Regions from separate parts of the Homo sapiens genome. Here region 2 is linked to region 1. The links are contacts of gene promoters, found by promoter capture Hi-C in human tissues and cell types (Jung and others, 2019). All regions are on one chromosome and are shown on one strand. Each heading gives the region's core, a stretch centred on a gene start or on the middle of the fragment in contact. The rest is flanking DNA. Distances are from core to core; before and after follow the strand shown.

The links. Contacts are between HindIII fragments. The study calls those that stand out against the background at their distance.
Region 2: a contact is called between a fragment that was not itself captured here and the fragment with the promoter of RAMP3 in region 1, in 1 of the 25 tissues and cell types used here (dorsolateral prefrontal cortex).

The regions. Positions count from the first base shown.
Region 1 is chr7:45,153,985-45,160,760 of GRCh38, reverse strand. RAMP3 (receptor activity modifying protein 3) reads right to left here and starts at 2,970. Exons shown (of 3, transcript NM_005856.3): 1 at 2,875-2,970. The coding sequence starts at 2,932. The HindIII fragment of the contact is 28,590 bases long and covers 1-6,776 here.
Region 2 is chr7:45,736,272-45,742,548 of GRCh38, reverse strand. It overlaps the pseudogene SEPTIN7P2. Among named protein-coding and RNA genes, the nearest start is that of CCDC201, 130 kb to the left of the region's middle. The HindIII fragment of the contact is 7,260 bases long and covers 1-6,277 here.

The DNA.
Region 1 (6,776 bases), core at 1,721-4,220:
CATGCCGGCCTGTGTTTCTTTTGTCTCAGGGACTTCCAGACGCCACTGAGAGATGATAAACAGCCAAACAGATGCATTTCCGCCAGAAAGGGCTTTTGTGGCTAGTCATTTGGAAATGAAACACAGGCGCTCTCCCCCTCCTTGACAGAAAGAGCATCGACGAGACTGGCAAGTGGCTGCCATGGGCCACGGTCAGTCGACCTTGGGAGGCTGTGGATTCTGGGCGGTTCTGCCCCTGGTCTCTGTGGTTGGGCAACTTCCTCTCTAACCTCCAGATTTCTGTTTCCTTATGAAGAATAGGTAAGAGCATGGAGGTCAGATAACCTCCAAGGAACCTCCAGTGCCAAAAATCTATGGGCCTCTTCTTGGCCAATCACCACCTTCAAGTCTTTTTTTTTTTTTTTTTTTTTTTTTTTTTTTTTTTTTTTTTGAGGCAGAGTCTCGCTTTGTCACCAGGCTGGAGTGCAATAGCATGATCTCGGCTCACTGCAATCTCCGCCTTCCAGGTTCAAGCGATTCCTCTGCCTCAGCCTCCTGAGTAGCTGAGACTACAGGTATGCACCACCACACCCGGCTAATATTTTGTATTTTTAGTAGAGACGGAGTTTCACCATGTTGGCCAGGATGGTCTCGATCTCCTGACCTCGAGATCTGCCCGCCTTGGCCTCCCAAAGTGCTGGGATTACAGGCGTGAGCCACCGCACCCGGCCGGCCACCTCCAAGTCTTTAATTCACCAGAGTTACTGCTATCCAACCATGGCCCTTGGGCCCACTTGATTCAGTAGAATCAATATGACCACAGGTAACATGGCAGCAGGACATCATTTAATGATAAAAACGATGGTACCATGTTCATACGCTTGCACACACAGGCACACACACTATGGTGCTCCATCTTTGGGTGCTGTGAGTGAGCCTCATGAGGCCCAGTGCAGTCACTGGTGGGTGCCTTCCCATACCTCCCCTTGTTTAAGCATGAACCCTTCCACCCCACAATCCCATGCCCAACACAAGGTGATAGGGACTAAACTGAATGGAATCAAACTGACGGTCTCAGCAGCCCTTTACAGATTGCTATTATTACATCTACATTGCAGCTCGGAAACTGAGGCCAGTGAGTGCTTTATAATCTTGGGATCATGATCAGGATTTTCACCCAGACCAGAAGAGTCCAGTCAAGAGCTGGGCACCACAGCAAAGTGTCCTGCTGAGTAGACAACTGCTGGACTTCGCATCCCCACAGCCCCACACAGCATCAAATGCTTTCTGGAAAAAGGTCTGGAATTCTCAAAGAAGCCCCAGAGGCCTGCACCCTCCCTGCTGGTCCTCCTGAGCTAGTCCTCAGTCAAGAGGAACCCACCCAGCTCCTTCCTTCCAGACACAGCAGCATCCAGGGCAGATGTGGGTTCCAGTCCCGGATACCTCTGACACATCGGCCTGGGACCATGAGCAAGTTTTACCTCTCCCTGAATCTCACTCTGGCCAGTCGAACACTGGGAGGGTCTGCTGAGAAGCTGGACCTGGTCCCTATTCTGGCCAGGGAGCGTGAACCCATGTCCCATTGGAGGGGGACAGTCAGGACCAACACAACAGGACAAAGAAGTGGCCCTCAGGAACTGGGTCCACGAGAGACAGGATTATTAAGGGGGGATTCTGTGCAGGCGGAAGCCTGTGGTCCTTCTCAATTTGATACTGGAGATGATCAGGAAAGCCTCAGCTTCTCCCAGAATGAATTGAGAGGACCTTCCTTCCACTATAGCGACCAAGATCTCCACCTAAGGGGCGCTCACTGGAAGTTTGCTGAAATCCCAAATCAGCATGCTCCTGATTTCAGAAGCTGCCATCCACCTTTGCACTTCAACACAAAATCCACCACATCCTAGGCTCCAGCCCTGGAACACCAAATGAAGCCACACAAGTTCTGCACACCAAGACCTCTTCAATGGAAGGAAAATGACCACTGAGTTTGGTCCACCCTTTTCCCACCTCCCGTACCAAATCCCAAATCATCAAAACAGGCCCAACTCTGCATCTTACAGCCAGGGAAACTGGGGACCACCAGGCCAGGGCCCTCCATCACCAATGTCCCCCCCAGAACTGGCCAGGCTCAGTCACCACTCAGTGGACCCCAGCCCTCAGCAAGCACTCTTCCCCAACAGCCTTTACACACATTCTCTCTCTCTCTCTCTCTCTTACTTTTTCTTGGATAATTTCTTTAGCAAGGTACTTCAAAACAAGCTTTTAGTTTAATCTATTTCCATTTTGTGAGCAATGGTTCTTCCTAGAGTCCTGATTTCTTGCCGAAGAAGGCATTAGGAGAGGATGGCTCAGAGAGTCGCCCCGCTTCCCCTCTCAGCCAGTTCCAGGACACACACAGGCGTCCACACACTGAGGGGCCCTGGGAGGACCAGCTACCCAGTCCGGAGTCCACCCGCCCACGCCCCTGTGAGTGGTGGGCAGGCACTCAATGCCAGGACAGAGAGCTCACTACCTTACAGACAGCCCACCCTGGGGGATAAGGGGTAAAGAGCCAGACCTGGTCCACCTCTTCTCGCCCACCCTGAGGCGACCCCAGAACCGGGGCGTGGGGGGACATCACAACTAGAAGGACCGGGGGCTGCCGGACCCTGCCGTCAGAAGACCCCGGAGGGGGCCCTGTGCCTCCCTTGCCCGCCAGAGTCCTTCGCCTTCAGCTTCTCCCGGGTGGAACCCTCCCGCAGAGCCTGGGAATCCCGCCAGGGTCACTGTGCGCCCCTCCCGAGCTCCGGGGCAAGGGAAGGACCGCGGCGCAGGTGCGGGAAGGCGCGGGTCCACCCGGGTCCGGTGAACCCCGAGGAGTGGGGGCGCCCCCGGTGCGGGCCGTCGCCCCCTTACCGCAGAGCAGCAGCAGCAACGGGAGAAGTTGCGGGCGCCGCAGCGCTCCAGTCTCCATGGCTGGCCGGCCGCAGCTGGGTCACGCTCGGTCCCGCTGGGGGCGCGGCTGGGGGACGCCCGGTTGGGGTTGGGGTGGGGCGGGGCCTCAGGGGGTCCGCCCTCAGGCCGCACCCCCAGACCACGCCTGCGGCCGTGCCCCGTTGCCTCCAGATGTGGGGTGCAGTCCCTGCAGGCGCGCCGGGTGGGAGGGATGGGGGCGGCTGGAGTCTCAGCGGGGTGAGAGGGGGGCGAGGGCAGGGTTTCGAGCTGGGGACAAGCTGGGGTAAGGTGGGGTGCCGGCTGATGGGCTCTGAGGGCGGGGCTGGGGTGCTGAGCTGCAAAGGAGCTTTTTGGGAGCAGATTGTAGGGGCAGACTGGGAGGTGAGCTGGGGTGAGCGTGGGGGCCGGCTGACGGTGGGCTGGGATGCAGGCTGGAGAGACTTGGGGAACTTCCGTCCAGGCTCAGGGGCAGAGGGTGGGGGTAGACCGGGGAGGGAGCTGAGGTGAGGATGAAGCGCTGGCTGATGATGGCCTAGAGGAGTCTGGGGGTAGACTGGAGGAAGGTGGACCTGGGAGTGGGCTAGGTGTGCCCTGGCCGAAAGTAGACCAGAGTCCAGAGCTGCCCCCAGGCAGGGAGGGGAACTTTGAGCAGAGATACATCTAGGAGCCAGGTCTCCAAAGGTCAGGAAAGTGCATAAAAGAGGTTGGGGGGTGTGTGTGTGTGCGTCTGTGTGTGTGCGTGTGTGTGTTGTTCATGGAGTACGTGTGTGTGATGTGCATGTGGGGTGTGTGTAGATGCATGTGTGTGCATGGAGTGTGTGATGTATGGTGTGTGTGTGGCATGTGTGTGTTTGAGTCTGAGACAAGGTGTGTTTGTGAGTGTATGCTTGGGAAACAGTGTGTATGAGAGAGACTGGAGGGTGTGGCAACTACACACACAGAGACGTATCACACACCAAGAACCAAGCCACAAGCAAACCAAGGGACAGGAGAGTATCTGGCACCACCAAAGACCTGGCCTTGAAGAGTGTCAGGGTCCCTGAGGCGAAGGAGGGCCTCAGTTTCTCCAGCCACAGGTCACTTGGCCAGATGGGTCACCTCTGTCACCCTCAGCCCCTAGCACAGGCCCTGGCTCCAGTGGACACTTAATGGTGTCTTAAGAATTGTCACTGGTCAGGACTTCCGAGAGCCAGCTAGAGGCACCTCTCTGCCCTCCAGGGCCCACCCACCACCCCTGGGGGCACATGCTGGTCTGAGGTTGGGGCACAGGCCCAGGCTCCTACATGGATGGGCCCTCCACTCCTCTGAGCCGTAGGTACTGCTACCTTCCCAGGAGCTGAGCTGAACTTCTCCTGGCTTAGAAAGACCCACTTTATTTAACAAGACCCTTATTCGGGAGAAGAACTTTCTGTGCTTTTTTACTGAAGAAATTCTGATTACAGCCAGAATTAATTCAAAGGAGTCAAAACTAATTAAAATTGATCATTTGTCCTGCCTTCTGCCTGAGGGGTGGGCAGCAGGTGTAGGGGTGGCCACAGAGCCTCTAGTGAGACTGATGGTGCCCACAGCCAGGCCTTCTGCCCACAGGCCAGGGGTCATAAAACAAGCTGACCAGGGCAGCAGGGGGCTGGCTTACACACACGCACACCCTACACCAGCCAAGACAAACCAAGAGGATGGTCCAGGCCCAGGTGTCCACCCACATCCCACACAGACTCGGCCCTACAGCTCTCTCCAGGAGAGTCTTAGTCTCCACTCGGTCCCACAGCCCCAAAGGCGGTTGCACATAGCTTGCAGGCTGGAACAGTAGGATGGGGTTGTCAGGTGGGAGGGGGGCAGCCAGTTCCCCCAAGCCTGCACCAGGGAGCAATGCTCCCTTTCCTGGACTCCCCACCCTGGCTCTGCAGTGGGGAAGCCCTGGCCATTCTACAGAGTTGGGTTCCAACACCTCTCCTCCATGGAACCAACCATGCCCCAACAAACTCCCAGGGAGTTGTGTCTACTGCCCCTAGGTCCCTCTAAGGCAGGGCCCTCACTTCTCCTCTCTGTGCCCAGTGGTGCCCATGGCCTCTGCAGGGCAGGTGGGTTTAACACAGGCTGTGAGGAGCTGAGCCATGGGAGAGAGGGACCTGCCCCTTCCACGGTGCATCCCCCCGACCCTGAGTGTGGAAAGGCTGCCGCCATAAATGAGATTGACCATGGGGTGTGCCCTGGACAGCACCTGTCTCCCTGCTTGTCCCTCGGTGGGTGCTGGCCCCGGCACCATTCCCTGTGTCTGCGATCCTGTGTGCACTGGGGTCCTCTCAGGAATCCCCTCTTAGCGTTCATAATTATTTATTTATTTTATTTATTTATTTATTTATTTATTTATATTTTTTTTAGAAGGAGTTTCATTGTTATTGCCCAGGCTGGAGTGCAATGGCATGATCTTGGCTCACTGCAACCTCTGCCTCCGGGGCTCAAGAAATTATCTTGCCTCAGCCTCCCGAGTAGCTGGGATTACAGGCTTGTGCTACCATGCCCGGCTAATTTTTGTATTTTTAGTAGAGACGGGGTTTCTCCATGTTGGTCAGGCTGGTCGCGAACTCCCGACCTCAGGTGATCCTCCTGCCTCGACCTCCCACAGTGCTGGGATTACAGGCGTGAGCCACCGCGCCCGGCCGGTTCATAATTCTTTACACCAAACTTCCCCATTCAGGTTGCGGTGTAGTCTCTCTCCTGATCAAGCCCTGATTCACCATTATCATGATATTTATTCTGTGATTCCTCTTATTCTTAAATAGTTGTAAGAGAACATTTTCTTGACACTCAAGTGGCCTCTTCTAAGAGGAAGAAATAACATCCTGGTGTTTCTACCAGATCAGGGGAACACATGGCCGCTGGGCCTTCACTCTCCCTGGAAGTAATGCTTCTGCCCGGAGTCCACGTGTCCAGGCAAGGGCCTGAGCACAGAACCTGGTGAGGTTTGGGATCTGGTTCTGCTTGCTCTGGGGCTAGACTTCAGGAGGGTGGGGGTTGAGAAGGAGCCAAGGGAAGCCATTCCCGGGCACCTGGCTCCCCCTGCTGGACAGACACTGAAATAACGGTATCATTGTCGATGAGACTACGCCTCTGTCCCTGAGGCAGCAGCAACGCCTCGGTGACCCCTCTCCAGGGACACAGAGGACCGGTCTTCAAAGAAGGGTGATGAAGGAGATTCCAGGAAGGGGTGCCTCTGACCCTCAGCTGTTTTCCACCTTCCCACGGATCAAGACACAGCCTTCCATCTCCTGTTGCGTTTGTTTGCTCATTTGTTTAATTGCAATAAAAAATACTTAACGTCAAATCAAGCATTTTAGGATGGGTGTGGTGACTTATGCCTGTAATCCCAGCACTTTGAGATGCCGAGGTGGGCTAACTGCTTGAGCTTAGGAGTTCTAGACCAGCCTGGGCAACATGGTGAAACCCCGCCTCTACAAAAAAAATACAAAAATTAGCCGTGTGTGGTGAGGTGCGCCTGTAGTCTCAGATACTGTGGAGGCTGAGATGAATTTCCTTTTTTTTTTTTTTGAGACATAGTTTTGCTCTTGTCACTCAGGAGTGCAATGGTGCCATCCCGGCTCACTGCAACCTCCACCTCCTGGATTCAAGCGATTCTCCTGCCTCAGCCTCACAAGTAGCTGGGATTACAGGCCCTCCCACCACGCCCAGCTAAATTTTGTATTTTTGGTAGAGATGGGGTTTCACCATGTTTGCCAGGCTGGTCTCGAACTCCTGACCTCAGGTGATGCGCCCACCTCAGCCTCCCGAAGTGCTGGGATTATAGGTGTGAAGCACTGCGCCCGGCCTCCTTCCTTCTTAAGGCTGAATAATATTCTGTTGTG
Region 2 (6,277 bases), core at 1,678-4,177, 580 kb before region 1:
AAAATCAGAATTATGTAGTCATATAGAAGTGAAAGTGATTTTAGTGAAAGGAAAATCATCCATTATCTAAAACATTAGATGACACTAACAAAAATAGCTTAACAATTAGTAAATTCACCTTACCTTTATTTTACACATTCATGCAAACATTTCATGTAAGTATTCTTCCTTAGAACCTTTAATGATTTTTCAGGGATGTAGTGATGATATGTAATATATAATAATTAAAATTAGGCCGGGCACAGTGGCTCACACCTGTACTCCCAGCACTTTGGGAGGCCAAGGTGGGAGAATTGCTTGAGCTCAGGAGTTTAAGACTGGCCTGAGCAACATGGCGAAACTGCGTCTCTACTAAAATATAAAAAATAGTTGGGCGTGGTATTGCATTCCTGTAGTCCCAGCTACTCAGGAGGCTGAGGCAGGAGGATGGTTTGAGCCTGAAAGGCAGAGGTTGTAGTGAGCTGAGATTGTACCACCACACTCCATCCAGCCTGGGCGACAGAGCAAGACTCTGTATCAAAAAAAAGAAAGAAAAAAATTACATAAACTTTTTTTATATTGGCATAGGTGTTTATTCTTATTATTCTCCACTTAGAGAAACTGGTAACAATAATTTATTCCAAAAAGTGTTTATCATATCTCAGCTTCAATCTTGAGTTACCAATTTTGTTAAAATTCCTATTTTCTGCTATCTGCATTGGGACACAAAAGGTAATGGTGTGTTCCTTGTAAAGGGGAACTTATAGTTGAAGAGGTATGATGTCACCTGTGACATATACTTGTACCAAAAATGAATGACAACCAAGAAGAAAATGTTCATGGTTGGAATGCTTTGATGTCAAGGCTGGGACAAAGGTTTCTAAAGCAGTTGAACTCTTTGATGAGAGATTGACAAATTAGCCTGAACTGTTCAGTGTCAATCACCAGATACGCCAGGAGTAGGGAGCTGTCTGACTTGCCCTAAGTGGAGTGGTAGAGCTTTAGAAGTAACTGTTGTGGCTATAAGAGAACATGAATTTATCAAGGGACAAAGTCTGGGAGATGAGATTTTTGGAAAACTCAGACTTAGGACTAAGGGGAGTGAACTATCAGAGAATTGCATGGAAATGTCAGTACGATATGAATCAGAGTAATTGAATATCACATTTTATTCACAAAGGGGGAGATTCAAGAAGCTGGATTGTGAAGTAACAGTAAAGGTTTTCTGGATGTAAGGAATGATAAAAACAGTACAACAATACGCTTTTTTTTTTGAGACGGAGTCTCACTCTTATACCCAGGATGGAGTGCAGTGCACGATCTTGGCTCACTGCAACCTCCACCTCCTGGGTTCAAGCTATTCTCCTGCCTCAGCCTCCCAAGTAGCTGAGATTACAGGTGTCCGCCACCACACCCAGCTGATTTTTGTATTTTTAGTAGAGATGGGGTTCCACCATGTTGGCCAGCCTGGTCTCAAACTCCTTGAGCTCAGGCAATCCACCTACCTCGGCCTCCCAAAGTTCTGTGATTACAGGCATGAGCCACCACACCCAGCCAACAATACACCTTTGTGTTTGTCTCCCAGAAGGGAGTTTTAGTAAAGTGGTGAAGATGAATGATGGCAGATATAGGAAGTTTGAGATAGAACAGATGATGGGAAGAGGGAGAACTGACAATACAGAGTATTGCCACACCGTGTATATCCAAGAACACTACATTGGTAAAGGATATCCATGGAGCAGCTAAGGGTATCTTCGGTGTCTTGAATAATTAAATAATGATGACATCATCCCGTATTTATTGTAGATTTATCTCATATGTATTGATTTTATATATGATAGAAATGCTGTAAGCAAAAATTTGTTTAACCAAAATACCACATTCACCTAGACAGTTTGAAGAAACAGAAATTTACTCTAAAATTCCCTAGTTTGAAAGCAACTTGATATGTCATCTGAAATGTATTATTATGTCTTAATAAAAACTCATATATTACCTTAGTAATATTGCTAAAAGGCAATTACTTTTAGATTTTATGAGCTTCAGTAGTAGCTAATCTACACTCTCTTGTCTAGTATTTAAATAGATAATATAAAAATGAATACTCTTTCATAGAAAGGTCATCCTTCAGTTACTGCTTTGGGAGATTTGTGGGTTTTTTTTTTTTCTTTTTTGAGGATTCATTTTCTTTATTTAAAAAAATGTTTTTGGCCGGTCGCGGTGGCTCACGCCTGTAATCCCAGCACTTCGGGATGCCGAGGTGGGTGGATCACAAGGTCAAGAGATTGAGACCATTCTGGTCAACATGGTGAAACCCTGTCTCTACTAAAAATAAATAAATTAGCCAGGCGTGGTGACACGCACCTGTAGTCCCACCTACTCAGGAGGCCGAGGCAGGAAATCGCTTGAACCCAGGTGGCGGAGGTTGTAGTGAGCCAAGATTGCACCACTGCACTCCAGCCTGGCGAAAGAGGGACAGAGGGAGACTCCGTCTCAAAAAAAAAAAGAACAAAGAAAAAAAATGTTTTCCCCTATGTTATTTTAGGAATCAAGCAACATGGGACGTGTTGAGGAGACAGCACAATCGGGCAGGAAGGAGGGTTGAAGAGCAGACAGGCTCGCTGGGAGAGCAGAGGACAGGGACGGGGAGAGAGGGTGGGATGGAGAGGGCATCTGAGGGGAGATGGTCAGAGGTCGACTGCTGTCTCAGGCCCTTTTTCAAAGTCATCCCAGCTCTTTGAAAGGGGCTTATTTGCCATTTAAGAGCTGTTGATGTTTCTTTAAAAATGAATCTCAGGGTGTGTGGCTGGGCAGCAGGCACCAGCACCAAGAGGAGTACAAACAAGGTCCCTGGGCTGAGGATCCCACTGTGGGCAAAGCCTGTAGTGCAGAGAAGTGGCGGAAAACTTAGGGCTCCAAGAGGCAGACCTACAGGGAGCTGGCCATTTGCACTCACCCTTCCTATCCTAGGCAAAAGAGGGAGCGAGCTGAGGAAAAGTTAGAACTAGGCTTCTTTAAAGTAACAGATTAAGCACTATTTAATTTCTGCTCTAGACCTCAAAGGAGTTAAACCAGGCGACTTCCACCAGATTTTCTTGATTCTGTGTTTATTCCATGAGAAGCTGTGGGCTCGATCCTGTACAAGTTCTAGAACTTCGTGGAACCTGCAGAACCTATATGGGCAGTTGAAGTGAGTGGAGAAACCAGGAATCTCAAAATATCTCAATATAAAGACACCACTCCTTCCCCTCTCTTCACTGCTCCTGCAAAAGCAGGTCCTCCACGCCACTGCTGCCTACCCAGACCGCTGCACTCTCACTAATGAGGCTATTTCTTTCTTGACTTCGCTGTGCTCTTGGCCCAGTGACAACAATCAGAAATAATCCGGCGCAATCAAGCCCATGCTACCCTGGACAGAGAGTAATATTTCCATCCAAGGCCTCCCTAGTGGTTTTCCCTCTCTGAGCAGCGGGGACATGGAGCAGCTGTCAAAACACCAAGGGAGGCCCAGGAAAGATGCTCATCTCCGGGGAGGAGCGGAGGGGACAGCCAGCATGTCTTCAGCCAGGAAGGGGCATGACAGCACAGGGCAGCCTGTGGGGGGCATGGCGGGGTGAGAAATCTTCCTGTGGCTGTGGAAATCTTGATAAGGTGGCGAATGTGTTGTATAGTGGCATCCTGAAGGCTGCCTGCCCTCCCAGGCACCCAGGGCAGGCAGGCAAGCTGCACGCTGTCATCGCCTAAGTCAGAGGCATGGGGCACACTTAATTACAGGGGAAGCAGAATCTGACTGCACTTTCTGTGCCAGCTGCTGAGTTCGTTTGCATCGTCATTTTTTTTTCCTTTTTCATACCTCAATGGAATAAATCTGAAAGATGTTTAGAGCTAGATTTTCACCAGCAGGTCTTCAGAAATGAATACAGGGATGAGGAATTTCATCCATTTATCCTTGCATTGGCTGAGCAAATATTTATTGAGTGCCTGTTGTATCCAGGTACTGTGCTTGGTGCTAGGGGGGTTCTCAGATTTGTTTTCTAAGGTGAAACAATCGGAATTTGGAGCCACCGATATTTTCCATGCTCATCACAAGGGAGAGGGGAGCTATAATATTTGGACATCACAATGAGATAAACTGGAAGTAATCAGCCCAGAAGACACTGCCTGGTTTCTGGAAGGTGAAGATTGAGATGCAGGCTCATAGGTGGGAAGCTCTGCCTTTGATCTGGGCATTGTGATATTTCCATTAATGAGGCATAAGGTGGAAAGGTGGTGCCTGTCATCTGGGCTTGACAATCTTCTCAATGCCCTAGAAGAAAGTCTTCCCTCCTATGGCCATTTCTCTTTTTCTTTTTTTCTTTTTCTTTTAAATTATACTTTAGGTTCTAGGGTACATGTGCACAACGTGCAGGTTTGATCCATATGTATACATGTGCCATGTTGGTTTGCTGTACCCATCAACTCATCATTTACATTAGATATTTCTCCTAATGCTATCCTTCCCCCAGCCCTCCACCCCTGACAGGCCCCAGTGTGTGATGTTCCCCACCCTGTGTCCAAGTGATCTTATTGTTCAGTTCCCACCTATGAGTAAGAACATGTGATATTTGGTTTTCTGTCCTTGTGATAGTTTGCTGAGAATGATGGTTTCTAGCTTCATCCATGTCCCTGCAAAGGACATGAATTCATCCTTTTTTATGGCTGCATAGTATTCCATGGTGTATATGTGCCACATTTTCTTAATCCAGTCTATCGCTGTTGGACATTTGGGTTGGTTCCAAGTCTTTGCTATTGTGAGTAGTGCTGCAATAAACATACGTGTGCATGTGTCTTTACAACAGCATGATTTATAATCCTTTGGGTATATACCCAGTAATGGGATTGATGGGTCAAATGGTATTTCTAGTTCTAGATTCTTGCGGAATCGCCACACTGTCTCAATGGTTGAACCAGTTTACAGTCCCACCAACAGTGTAAAAGTGTTCCTATTACTCCACATCCTCTCCAGCATCTGTTGTTTCCTGACTTTTTAATGTTCACCATTCTAACTGACGTGAGATGGTATCTCATTGTGGTTTTGATTTGCATTTCCCTGATGACCAGTGATGATGAGCATTTTTTCATGTGTCTGTTGGCTGCACAGATGTCTTCTTTTGAGAAGTGTCTGTTCATGTCCTTTGCCCATTTTTTGATGGAGTTGTTTGTTTTTTTCTTGTAAATTTGTTTGAGTTCTTTGTAGATTCTGGATATTAGCCCTTTGTCAGATGGGTAGATTGCAAAAAATTTCTCCCATTCTGTAGGTTGCCTGTTCACTCTGATGGTAGTTTCTTTTGCTGTGCAGAAGCTCTTTAGTTTAATTAGATCCCATTTGTCAATTTTGGCTTTTGTTGCCATTGCTTTTGTTGTTTTAGTCATGAAGTCCTTGCTATGGGTCTCAAAATCTCTATGGAATCTAAATTTGGTGTCAAGTTAGCTTATTTTTTATTCTACTTTGGGTGTAAATGAAAGCAGATGAATGCCACCTTCCTTAACAATAGTCTTTTGTTCATTTTAAATCTGAAATTTTTGTTTTGGTAAAATTTTGAATTTATATTAAAGCTTTTTTAGCTTTATGCCCCCTAGCTATTAATAGAAGCAAACTCTTGCCGTTTATTTATGACAGAACACACGCAGGACTTGAAAGATGTTACTAATAATGTCCACTACGAGAACTATGGAATCAGAAAACTGGCAGCTGTGACTTATCATGGAGTTGATAACAAGAAGAATAAAGGGCAGCTCACTAAGTAAGTATATATTTTTTTCTCCAAAAAAAGGTATTCTTTCTGTAGTCAGTAATCATATTGTTTCATTTTCATTAAATTTCTCCTGGCTACTCAGTAGAAAATTTGGATAACATTCTCTATGCATAACAGCATAAATTTATATTGTTATGCTTTGTTAATAGTAGAAGCTTTTTTGAATGAACCATTTTGATAAGAGTTTTCACTTACAGATTGTGTGGAAACAAAGGACAGGCTTTAAGAAAAGGAATATTTAGGGCCGGGCGCGGTGGCTCACGCCTGTAATCCCAGCACTTTGGGAGGCCGAGGTGGGCGGATCACGAGGTCAGGAGATCGAGACCATCCCGGCTAAAACGGTGAAACCCCGTCTCTACTAAAAAAAAAAATACAAAAAATTAGCCGGGCGTAGTGGCGGGCGCCTGTGGTCCCAGCTACTTGGGAGGCTGAGGCAGGAGAATGGCGTGAACCCGGGAGGCGGAGCTTGCAGTGAGCCGAGATCCCGCCACTGCACTCCAGCC